Regions from separate parts of the Homo sapiens genome. Here all the other regions are linked to region 3. Evidence: promoter capture Hi-C in 16 types of primary human blood cells and fetal thymus (Javierre and others, 2016). All regions are on one chromosome and are shown on one strand. The core of a region is centred on a gene start or on the middle of the fragment in contact, and the rest is flanking DNA. Distances in the headings are between cores, read along the strand shown.

What was found. The method cuts DNA at HindIII sites, captures the fragments that hold promoters and counts their contacts. A CHiCAGO score of 5 or more calls a contact.
Region 1: a contact is called between a fragment that was not itself captured here and the fragment with the promoter of KCNG3 in region 3, in 1 of 17 cell types (fetal thymus). The highest score is 14.0, in fetal thymus.
Region 2: a contact is called between a fragment that was not itself captured here and the fragment with the promoter of KCNG3 in region 3, in 1 of 17 cell types (fetal thymus). The highest score is 7.5, in fetal thymus.

What each region holds. Positions count from the first base shown.
Region 1 is chr2:42,564,309-42,568,145 of GRCh38, forward strand. It overlaps a transcript of MTA3 not described here. Among named protein-coding and RNA genes, the nearest start is that of MTA3, 2.4 kb to the right of the region's middle. RefSeq lists an enhancer at 3,572-3,711. The HindIII fragment of the contact is 1,507 bases long and covers 864-2,370 here.
Region 2 is chr2:42,588,473-42,592,437 of GRCh38, forward strand. All of the region lies in intron 3 of MTA3 (metastasis associated 1 family member 3), which reads left to right. All of the region lies in intron 2 of LOC105374555 (a long non-coding RNA gene), which reads right to left. Among named protein-coding and RNA genes, the nearest start is that of MTA3, 22 kb to the left of the region's middle. The HindIII fragment of the contact is 3,506 bases long and covers 1-3,150 here.
Region 3 is chr2:42,492,454-42,495,985 of GRCh38, forward strand. KCNG3 (potassium voltage-gated channel modifier subfamily G member 3) reads right to left here and starts at 1,529. Exons shown (of 2, transcript NM_133329.6): 1 at 384-1,529. The coding sequence starts at 1,048. It also overlaps a transcript of MTA3 not described here. RefSeq lists enhancers at 1-473, 474-1,231, 2,556-2,850 and silencers at 1,312-1,401, 1,582-1,631, 1,722-1,801. The HindIII fragment of the contact is 17,203 bases long and covers 1-3,302 here.

The DNA.
Region 1 (3,837 bases), core at 367-2,866, 72 kb after region 3:
GGGCATGAGGGAACTATGGGATCCGAAAACACATACTGCCCGAAACCAAGACCTTTAGGGATTTCATGTTTTTTGCACAGGAGATCTATGGAAGAACCATCTCTATGACTAGAGAAGCTACAGAACTCCCAATTCTGTTTCCTTTCTCCTTGGGGCTCTTCTGCTTTGATTCTTGCCATCATATGCCTACACTTCTCTTGGGTTATGTTCCTCTGCCTTTAAAACCCAGGCCCTCCTTAGAATATGAGACAGACTGGCCTTTTCTGAAAGAATTTTACTAAATAAGAGAAGAAGTTAATGAAAGGAAAAAGAAGAGAGAAATAAATCATGGAAAACACGAACCAACAAGATAAAGTCCCTTTTCCAAAGCCTGGCCTCTGGTTTCAGATTAATTACATTTTAGACCTCCAGGCTCCTGTCCTGGGTTCAGTATGACAGAACTCCCAGACTGTGGCCAGCACCAATCTCTTTTAATTTATTTTTTTTGAGATGAAGTCTCGTTCTGTTGCCCAGACTGGAACACAGTGGTGTGATCTTGGCTCACTGCAATCTCTGCCTCCTGGGTTCAAGCGATTCTTCTGCCTCAGCCTCCTGAGTAGCTGGGACTACAGGCGCTTGCCACCATGCCCGGCTAATTTTTTGTATTTTTAGTAGAGATGGGTTTTCACCATATTGACCAGGCTGGTCTCGAACTCCTGACCTCATGATCCGCCGGCCTCGGCCTCCCAAAGTGCTGGGATTACAGGTGTGAGCCACCGCGCTCAGCCAACCGGCACCAATCTCTTTTTATTTTTTCGCACATATAAAAACTCCATCCCTACGTTGAGACAAAAACCAACTCTCCATTTTACCTATTCACCTAAAGCTTTCTTTTTTTTCTTTTGTTTATTTATTTTGAGACAGAGTCTTGCTCTATTACCCAGGCTAGAGTGCAGGGGCATAAACATGGCTCACAGCCTCTACCTCCTGGGCTCAAGCGATTTGCCTGCCTCAGTCTCTTCCAGAGTAGCCAGGACCATAGGTGCGCACCAACTGGCTAACTTTTTTTTTTTTTTTTTGGTAGAGGTGGGGTCTTGCCATGTTGCCTAGGCTCAAATGATCCTCCTGCCTTGGCCTCCCAAAATGCTGGGATTACAGGCGTGAGCCACCATGCCTAGCCACCTATAGCTTTCTTGCTGCATCCACTTCTCTTCAACTAAATGGTAAAGAACTACCTTGTATGTGGTTCTTTAATTGCAACAACTGTGCAAGGAAATTTCATCCATGGAAGGGCTGGATTTGCCCTGGGATTTCTGGCATGGCCTGAGAGACACTTCTTCCTTAGTGATGAGAATAACTGGAATAGAGAGAAGGGACCTAACGCATATGAAGCGCCCAACAAGTGCCAAACACCTTCTATATTTAAATTTTACCAGGCTGGGCATGGTGGCTCATGCCTGTAATCCCAGCATTTTGGGAGGCTGGGCAGGCAGATCACTTGAGGTCAGGAGTTCCAGACCAGTGTGGCCAACATGGTGAAACCCTGTCTCTACTAAAAATACAAAAATTAGCCAGACGTGGTGATGGGCACCTGTAGTCCCAGCTGCTTGGGAGGCTGAGGCAGGAGAATTGCTTGAGCCTCGGAGGTGGAGCTTGCAGTGAGCCGAATCCGAATCGTGCCATTGCACTCCAGCCTGGGCAGCGAGAGCGAAACTCCGTCTCAAAAAAAATTTTTTTTTCTACCATAAGCCTTTGAGGTAGGTATCAACCAGTAGTCATATTTTGTAACCCCTCTTGAGGCTCAGAGGGGTTAAGTAACTTGCTCAAGGTCTTTATAGTTAAACTGCCAAACTAGGAGTGAAGTTAGGGCTGGTTGATGACAAGTTTGTGGTCTAAACCATGTAGCTAAGAAGGGAGAGGCGCCTTTGCTTTTTTAAAGGTGCAGGCTTTCCACCCGTCTTTGGTTGAAAGGTTTCTTTCAATCTACAAACATTTGCTGAACTCCTTTATGTGTGAACCTCTCTGGAATTAGGACATATAAAAGTTTCACAAAGTCCTTGTATTCAGCTCTTCTGATTCTTTGAGTCCACGATTTGTTGGTATTTATTCTTCAGATACTGAGCATCTACTGTGTCAGCTCAGAAATGTAGAGGACATTGGCCTAGGAGCTGGACATGGAAGAGACTAATATATAGAATCTAGAGCAAAAAACGGTTCTAAGGCCTGCCACCATCATTACCTCCTGCTAGTCCCCTTCAAGTCTTTGAGGCCTTTCATGGGGGGCTTCTGGATGAGGCTGTTCCTAAGGGGACATAGGGAGGAGTTTTCTCGGCATCTTTCACCATTTATTGTGGTTAGCACAGTCATCATAAACACCTGGCAAGAGCACTAAGCTTGGGAAATGAGACAGGCACACAATGAATTAACAAAAACAGGGAAAGATTTCGAAGGAGGAGAAATTGCTTATGAAAAATTAATGGGAAAACATCCTAAAGCTTGTGATCCACTTCTTTGCACTTTATGGTTTCTAGGTGGCTTTTGTACTTGGAGAAACACTGTGGTTCAGAACATTCTAGGCCAGAGGAAAGGGCTGATTCATAATCCCAAAATTGCTGCCAGTTTACTGTGTGATTCCAGGTGAATTATTCAACCCTATTTATGTGTCAGCTCAGAAATGGAGTGATGTCAGTTTTGTCAGAATGTTTTTGGTGGGATCTCTGGTAAATGTTGAATGACAGCTATGCAATGTGTGGAACAGAACACTTTTGCTTTCTTCTTTGGGTCAGAATTTGACACATGGCTCAGAATTTGACACACAGCAGAGAACCCTTGGGAATCTGTGGTTTTCTGGGGTTAAAAAGAAAGCAAGAGACACCTGTTATTTGCATGGTGCTCTGTGTTCCCTGGTTTACAAAGCATTTTCAGATATCATCGCAACTGATCCTTACCACACCTGTGAAGGGGGAACTCACGTCCCCATTTTATAGACGAGGAAACAGGTCATAGAGTCAATGTAATTCAATAGTGCTTTATTTTTTATTTTTATATTTTGCCTCAGCTATGCACAGTTTTTTCATCTCAATACTTTGTGATAAGTGACCATCACAAATGTCATCACCAAACCACCAAAACACAACCTTCTTTTCTGGGGGCACCTCTTAGCCCCGCACAGACCTTAAACCCAGAGTCGACAGCACACAGCTGTGTATCACCACACATTCCAAACAAGCCACCACACCAAGAAATCTTCTTCGTGTTTATTATGCAGCAATGTCTGGGAGTACTTTGGAATGGACTGGCTTCTCTAAAGAAAGTTATTTGTGTTCATTTGGGGGATCGCCAGCTAAGATTCAACGTTGTTTTTTTTTTTTTGTATCTGTGAGAGTAGGAAGGCCGTGAAAACAGAGGTTGTTTAGAGAATTGGCCTGGGACAATAACCATTTAGAAGCTTTAGGCACGTAACCAGTTAAGTGTCCATCGACATGAAACTGATTGAATACAATCTCCTCTGTTTGGGGGTGGTGGTGATTGTGAACTGTAGGGCCCTGTTCCCCCATGGACAAAGGAAGCCCCTCACTCCTAAAGGTCCCTTTTCCCAGCAGAACAGGCCCTGCATATACAGTGCCCGTCTAGAGCCAGGGCCTCCATCTGGGTGTTGGACAGTTGGTTCTGCTCAGCCCAGTTTTGGGGTAAACGATGACGCAGTTAGGGTGGCCTAGGAAGGGAGTTTTTCTACCTCTGTCCCCAGCTGGGTCTCTGGCGAGGCGGGAAGCACCCGGAATCTTCCTGGCCCTAGAGCCTGCAGGCTCCAGGCCGGCCCCTTGAATCTCACCGCGAGGAAGGCACCCTGCTGCCTGC
Region 2 (3,965 bases), core at 148-2,647, 96 kb after region 3:
TAAAGGATTTTTAATGATTTAGCAGCTGACAATTCAATTAGGTCTTCTTTCAGTTTTGCTAGAAGCAGATAATTTGAAACCAGCAGACATGGAAGAGATTTAGGTTTTTTAACAAGTCATTAGGGCCCTTTGCATTCTCATTTTCTGAGAAGCAAAGTAAAAAGGTTTTACTGAGACCTAACAAAAGATTATTAATTATACTTCTTACTATTCACCTATCCCTATAGGTGTATCAATTAGTGTTTTACCCGAGAAAGAGAACCAGATGGAGATTATGTATGTGTATAAATATACAGACACATATGTATGCATGTATACACATGTATGTATTATACATATATATATATGCTATATAAAATTTTCAACAGGTTTATATACATATAAAGAGATTTTTTTTGCAAGGAACTGGTTTACATAATTGCTGGGGCTGGCTAGGCAAGTCTGAAATCCACAGGGAGGCTGTCTGTTAGGTGGACATTTCTTCTTCAGGGAAGCCTTAGTTTTGCACTTAGGGCCTTTTACTGATTGGATGAGGCCCACCCTGATTGTGGAGGCCAATCTTCTTAACTTCGAGTCAGCTGATGTTACTCATATCTACAAAATATTTTCATAACAATATCTAAATTAGATTTTGATTGAATGACTAGGTACTATAGTTTAGATAGTTTGACACATAAAACCATCATCGGCACCTTATTTCAACCAGTATACTCAAAGGTTTGGGAAAGTTGAAGTAATGAAGTAATGTTCATTAAAATATACGTTTGTGTTTTAAATTTATGTCCGGTAAATGTTTAACTCTTAGATCATGTACATACTTAAATATGTATTTAAATACATGATGCAAATTTTAATATAATTATAAACTATTTAAATATATTTTCATCTAATTCTTGGAACTGTGGATTTAATTTGTTCAGTTGTGGAAAATTATCACCAGTAACCTTAATGGCAAAGCCAGTCTTCCCTGACAAACCAGGCAGCTAAATAAATAACACTGATTTTCTGCCAGAAAGTCTGACTCCTTTTTTCCAATTTTAATAAATGAGTACTGTACATCTGTAAGGTAACCACCTCTTTTTGGATTTTTGTTTTTTTGAGAGAGAGTTTTGCTCTTTCACCCAGGCTGGCGTGCAGTGGTGCCATCTCGGCTTACTGCAACCTCTGCCTTCCAGGTTCAAGCGATTCTCCTGCCTCAGCTTCTGGAGTAGTTGGGATTACAGATATGTGCCACCATGCCCGGCTAATTTTTGTATTTTCAGTAGAGACAAGTTTCACCATGTTGCCCAGGCTGAAGTATGTATAGGACACAAAACCCTACTGTGAAACTTTTTGATATCTGGGTTAGAGGCTTCTCAGAGACCTGTATTGTATTTCTCTTTTGTCACCAATGGTCCCTTTGTTTGGTATCCTGGAGGTTTTTACTCCCCATGTTTCACCCAAGTTCTGCAGTAAGATTTAGGGTGGTTGAGAGGAGATGCCTGTATATAAGACAAGGGCAGTTGTGAGAAGTGGAGATGAGGAGAGATCAGTCTGATGCCTTGAGCTTGTGCTAGTTCTCAGGCAGATCAGTAGGAGCATGTGGGTGTTGATCTTAAACCTATGTTTCTGTGTACCCCTTAGAATGTCTTCTTATACACCCAAGAGACAGGTTCTTCTTTTGGAGACTTTGGGTACACTATAGCCCTTTTCCTGCGTGCTGTGGTTTGGATGTTGTGCCCTCCAAACTCATGTTGAGATTTGATCCCTGGTGTTGGAGGTGGGGCATAATGGGAGATGGTTGGGTCATGGGAGTAGATTCCTCTTGAATGGATTAAATTAATGCCCTCCCTGGAGTAGACGTGACTTCTCACTTTGTTAGTTCCCTAGAGAGCTGGTTTTTAAAAAGAACCAGCACACCTCCAACCTTGCTTCCTTTCTTGCCATGTGATCGCTGCATACTGGTTCCCCTTCACCTTCTGCCATGACTGAAAGCAGCCTGATTCCTTCATCAGATGCAGATGCCCAGTCATAAACTTTACAGCCATTAGAATTGTGAGCCAAATAAACCTTTTTGCTTTGTAGATTACCCAGCCTCAAGTATTCTTTTATAGCAACCCAAAATGGACTGAGAAACTGGGCTTGCTTTTTTTCATGTTTGCTTTTTTTTTTTTTTTTTTTGTGAGGTGGAGTCTCGCTCGCTCTGTCACCCAGGCTGGAGTGCAATGGTGCGATCTCGGCTCACTGCAACCTCCGCCTCCTGAGTTGAAGCACTTCTCCCACCTCAGCCTCCTGAGTAGCTGGGACTACAGGTGTGCACCACCATGCCTGGCTAATTTTTGTATTCTTAGTAGAGGCAGGGTTTCACCACATTGGCCCGACTGCTCTCGAATTCCTGACCTCAAGTGATCTGCCCGCCTGTTTGCTTTTTTTAAAACTGTGTTCCAGTTTTCATGACTGTGTGTTATTCCACACTTTGAGGTACTGTAATTTGACCACTGTGTACTGGTAGAGGATTAGGGTATTTTTCATCGTTTGCTACTGAGCAGTCTGCAGAACATAGCCATGATTGCTTTGTGACAAGGATATGTTCTGAGAGATGCGTCATTAGGTGATTTTGTCTTTGTGTGGACATCATAGAGTGTACTTACACAAACCTAGATGGTATAGCCTATTACACACCTAGGCTATGTGGTATAGCCTATTTGTACTTAGGGTACAAATCTGTACACATGTTATTGTATTGAATACTGTATGCAGGTGTTACCCAATTTTGGGTATTTGTTTATCTAAACATATTTAAACATAGAACAAGTACAGTAAAAATGCAGTAGAAAGGATAAAAAGTGATACACCTGTGTAGGGCACTTACCATGAATGGAGATTCCAGGCCTTGAAGTGAGTCAGTGAGTGAGTGGTGGTAGAATGTGAAGGCCTAGTACATACTGTACACCACTGTAGACTTACTAAACACTGTACACTTAGGCAACACTAAATTTATGGAAACGTTTTCCTTCAATAATGAATTAACCCAATTTATTATAACTTTTTAACTTCATAAACCTTTTAATTTTGTTTAGCTTTTTGACTCTTGTAATAACAACTTAAAACACAAACACATTGAATGGCTATACAAAAATATTTTCTTTCATCATATATCCTTATTCTATAAGCTTTTTTTCTTTTTATTTTATTTATTTTTTATTTTTATTTTTTTGAAACGGAGTTTCGCTCAGTGGCCCAGGCTGGAGTGCAGTGGTGCGATCTCAGCTCACTGCAATCTCCGCCTTCCAGGTTCAAGCAATTCTCCTGCCTCAGCCTCCCGAGTAGCTGAGATGACAGGTGCACACCACCACGCCCAGCTAATTTTTGTATTTTTAGTAGAGACGGAGTTTCACCATGTTGGCCAGGATGGTCTCTATCTCCTGACTTCGGGATCTGCCCACCTTGACCTCCCAAAGTGTTGGGATTACAGGCGTGAGCCACCGTGCCTGGCCTTAAGCTTTTTTCCTATTAAGAAAAATTCATTTGGCCAGGTGTAGTGGCTCACGCCTGTAATCCCAGCACTTTGGGGGGCTGAGGCTGGCAGATTGCTTGAGCCCAGGAGTTGGAGACCAGTCTGGGCAACATGGTGAAACTCCGTTTCTACAAAAAATATAAAAATTAGCCGGGTTTGGTGGTAAACACCTGTAGTCCCAGCTAAGGGAGGCTGAGGCAGGAGGATTGGTTGAGCCCAGTAGGCAGAGGTTGCAGTGAGCTGAGATCATGCCTCTGCACTCTAGCCTGGGAGACAGAGTGAGACTCTATCTCAAAAACAAAACAAAACAAAACAAAAAACCAATTCATTTATGGCTGGGCATAGTAGATCATACCTGTAATCCCAGCACTTTGGGAGGCTGAGATGGGAGGATCACTTGAGCTCAGGAGTTTAAGACCAGCTTGAGCAACATAACAAGACTCCGTCTCTACAAAATATTTAAAAATTA
Region 3 (3,532 bases), core at 279-2,778:
TTCAAACTGCGCTTAGTTCAAGGCTTAATTGTTGAACCCTAACAATAAAAGTTCAGAAAAATGTAATTAGCAGGTTGCTCTCTGCGCAAAAGTAAACTACAAAGAGGGGACATTTGTCTATCTCTACACGCCCCTCCCCATGCCTGAGGATTTCGCCCTCAAGAGGTGCGTCTAGTGTAAGGGCCAGACCCCGCTGGTGCCCCGGACAACGGGGTAGGAGTGGGGACCGACCGGTCCCGTAGTTGGCCGCGCCTGGGCCTCGCTGGGCGCGCACCCCGCTGGCTCGGTCGCCCGGAGGCGGACAGGACGGAGACGGGACGTATGGACGGGACGGACAGACGCGACAGGACGGACGGGACGGGTAGAGAAGCAGTGCGTCCTACCCGGAGGGCTCCCTCCCAGGGCCGGCGGAGTACCTGCTCCGGTCATCCAGGCTGCGGTTGTCGGCGGCTGCGTTGCGCCAGTCGGGCAACGTGCTGGCGCACAGCACCACCATGGACACGATCACGAACACCACCGACACGCTAGCCAGGATCTGCGCGGCCAGCGACGACGTGGGCTCCTCGAAGGTCCGCCGCATGCGCTCCAGCCAGCGCCTGGAGGGAGCCGCCTCGGCCCCGCCGGGGCGCGCCTCGTCGCGGCCCAGCACGCCCGGCTCGTCGGCCGAGTAGAAGGTGTAGGTGTCGGACATGCGGTCGTCGAGGCGGCGCTGGCAGCAGTACTCGAGGTGCGCGCCCTCCAGGCCCCAGTAGATCATCTCGTTGTAGAAGGAGAGCTCGCACATCCGCGGCGCGAAGCGCAGCTTGCCGTGGCCGCGCACGTAGAGCAGGATGAAGCCGAAGGCCTCCGAGTGCCGGTCGAAGAAGTACTCGTTGCGCTCGCGGTCGTAGTCGTCGCACACCTCGAGCACGTCGCGCTCGGAGCGGCAGCCGTGCAGCCGGCTCACGCGGCGCAGCGGGAAGTCCTTCAGCAGCTCCCGGGACAGCGAATACCGGGCGCCGCCCACGTTCAGCACCACCGAGGCCGCCCCGCTGCGCCCGAAGGTCATGGCTGGCCGCCCGGGGGACTTTCGGCCCGAGGGCCCCGCTGCAGCCCCCCACCCCAAGCCGCCACGCGGGGCCTGCCTGCCCGTGGCTGACGGGGGAGCGCGCCGTCGGGGCCCGCGCTCCCTCGGGGCTCCGCTCCTGCCCTCCGCTGGCCCGGGGGTCCCTGGGCTCGAGTATCTCCGGCGCTGCTAGTAGCGCGCCCTCCGCCCGGCGGTACCTGCGGGTGGCCGGGGAGTCCTCGCCGGCGCCAGCGCTGAGCCCCACCGGCTGGGAACGCGGCTGTGTCCGCGCCGCCGACCCTCGCGCCCGAGGGCTGCGCACACCGAGGCCGCGGTGCCCTCTCCCAAGCCGCGGGGCCGACCCCCTGAGGGCTGCGGGCGCCGAATGGAGCCGCCGGGGCGGAATAGCTCCCCGTCTCCGGCGCTCCCTGCGGCCGCGAATCCGGCGGCCGCCCCGCCGCCGTCCAGAGGCGAGAGGCAAAGTGAGCGGGTTCGGAGGCGGCGAAGAGCCGGCTCGCGGCGGCGGGGGCGGGGCCTCTGTGCAGTCCTCCTCCTCGCCCGCCGGCTCCGCGCGCGCCGCTCACCTCCCTCCGCGCCGCCCTCCGCTTCCCGCCCGCGCCCGCACCTCCCCGGCTTGCTCGGGCTGGGATTCCCGGGCGCCCCGCCCTGGACCTCGGGCTCCCCGCCTCGTGACGCCGTCCTCCCCCTCCGCTCCGGCCCGTAGTGGCGGGGAGGGGTCCGCAGGGCGGGGGAGCGGGGAGCCCAGCGCCGGGATGCCTGCTCCCGCGTCCTGCCCTGGGCCATCGGGATGAATTGGGCAGTCCCCAGGGCCCCTTTTAACAGCCCTGGTTCAAAGCCCAGTGTGGACTCGGGTGCGGGGACAGACGGCGTTTGGAGAGCTTTTTCCAGAAACTGTCCGGAGCCCAGCTCGGGTTCTGACATCGCCCCTAAGGATTTCTCAGGGAAGGCATCCCAGCCACGGCTTTTCCTGCCGACTTTGCTCTTCCTACCGCCGCGCGGGGCGACCCACGTACCGCGTGCTCAGAGGGCGGCTACACGCCCCATCCCCCAGCCTCGGTGCCGCCTGCCAGCCCGCGGAGGGAAGCGGTCCCCGACCCGGCCCCGGCCCCCACGTTCTGGGGCGCGAGTCCTGAGAAGGCGCCTAACGTGTAGCGCGCCTGGACCCTCTCGAGATGCTGCCCTTAGAGTGGGATGAAAGTCTGGGGAGGAACGCCTTGTCACCGGCAAAAACAGCCTTTCTCTTGGTCTTCGTCTGCATCCTCCTTTTCAAAATATCTTGATTTCCCCCGCGCACCCCTGACCCGGCTGCAGCACCGGCCCTCCGAGCGGGAAGAGCCCCGTGAAGGCTCCGCAGAGCGATCTACCCCGCGCTCTTGTCCGTGCCCAGAAAGCGGGTTCCACTTGGCAGGGATTATTTTAAACTGCTACCAGCAATTCATTCACCTGACACCCGACACCGGCAGCCCAGCCCGCCGGAGGCGAGACAGGTGAGTTGTAAGGCGAACCGTGTTAGATGCAAAACAAATACTAGAAGAAAAAAATAAGGGTGGGGTAGGGTGAGATGCGGTCATCTGACCACAGGGTAACCTGGCTGGTTAAAGGGAAGAGTTTTTCATTGCCCTCTACTTTTCGTAATTTTGTAGGATTGTCCGGTGCCCGCTAGAGGTCGCCAAACGGAGTCCTTTTGCGCTGGTTCTTAAGTGGATTCCTAGTGAAAAGGCAGACAACTGAAAATGTGAGTGCTGTCTTTTAAGTAAAATCACTCTCGGTGGCTTCTTAAAGAATGAAAATCTCTGTGAGTTGTTTATCCCCAGACTTGGATAATTTATCTTAAGAGCACTAAATGTGATTAAAAGCTCAAAAACAGGAGTTATTTGCTACTTTAGTATCTACTAAATAGTTTGCTATTCAGTATCTATTTTGCTATTTAGTGTCTACTGGGTAGATACTGCTACTTTGCTGTTTAGTATCTACTAAGTAGATATTAAACAAGAAAAATATCTGTAAGAAAGTGAGTTTCAAGACAGAATTGGAGGTGCTGATGGCCATGAGTTGGCACAGAGAAAGGGCAAAACATTCCTAGTAGCAAAATCTCGAATGTGGAGGTTTAAAGTCTGTGAAGAAGTATAATGCACTTGCCCACTGAAACAATGGGGATCTCAACTGCAGCATTTAAATTGGATCCCATAAGCAATGGAATCCCTGGAGGTTTCCATAGCAGAAATGGCTTGATGAAAGCTTTATTTCAGGAAGATGCCTTTGCACTTTGGGTCATTCTAAGGAGAAGGTCATTTCGCAACCCAGGAATGGGATCCCCAACCCCGTGTCTGTGAAGATGAAGAAGGGTCTGTTCTGAGAAACGCTGAGACCAAGAACTTTGCAGGTCTTGAAGATGGATTTGTTGTAGGACGTGAGGATGGGGAAAAGTTTGCAGATGTGAGCCAGAGATGAGCCTGGCTTGATACC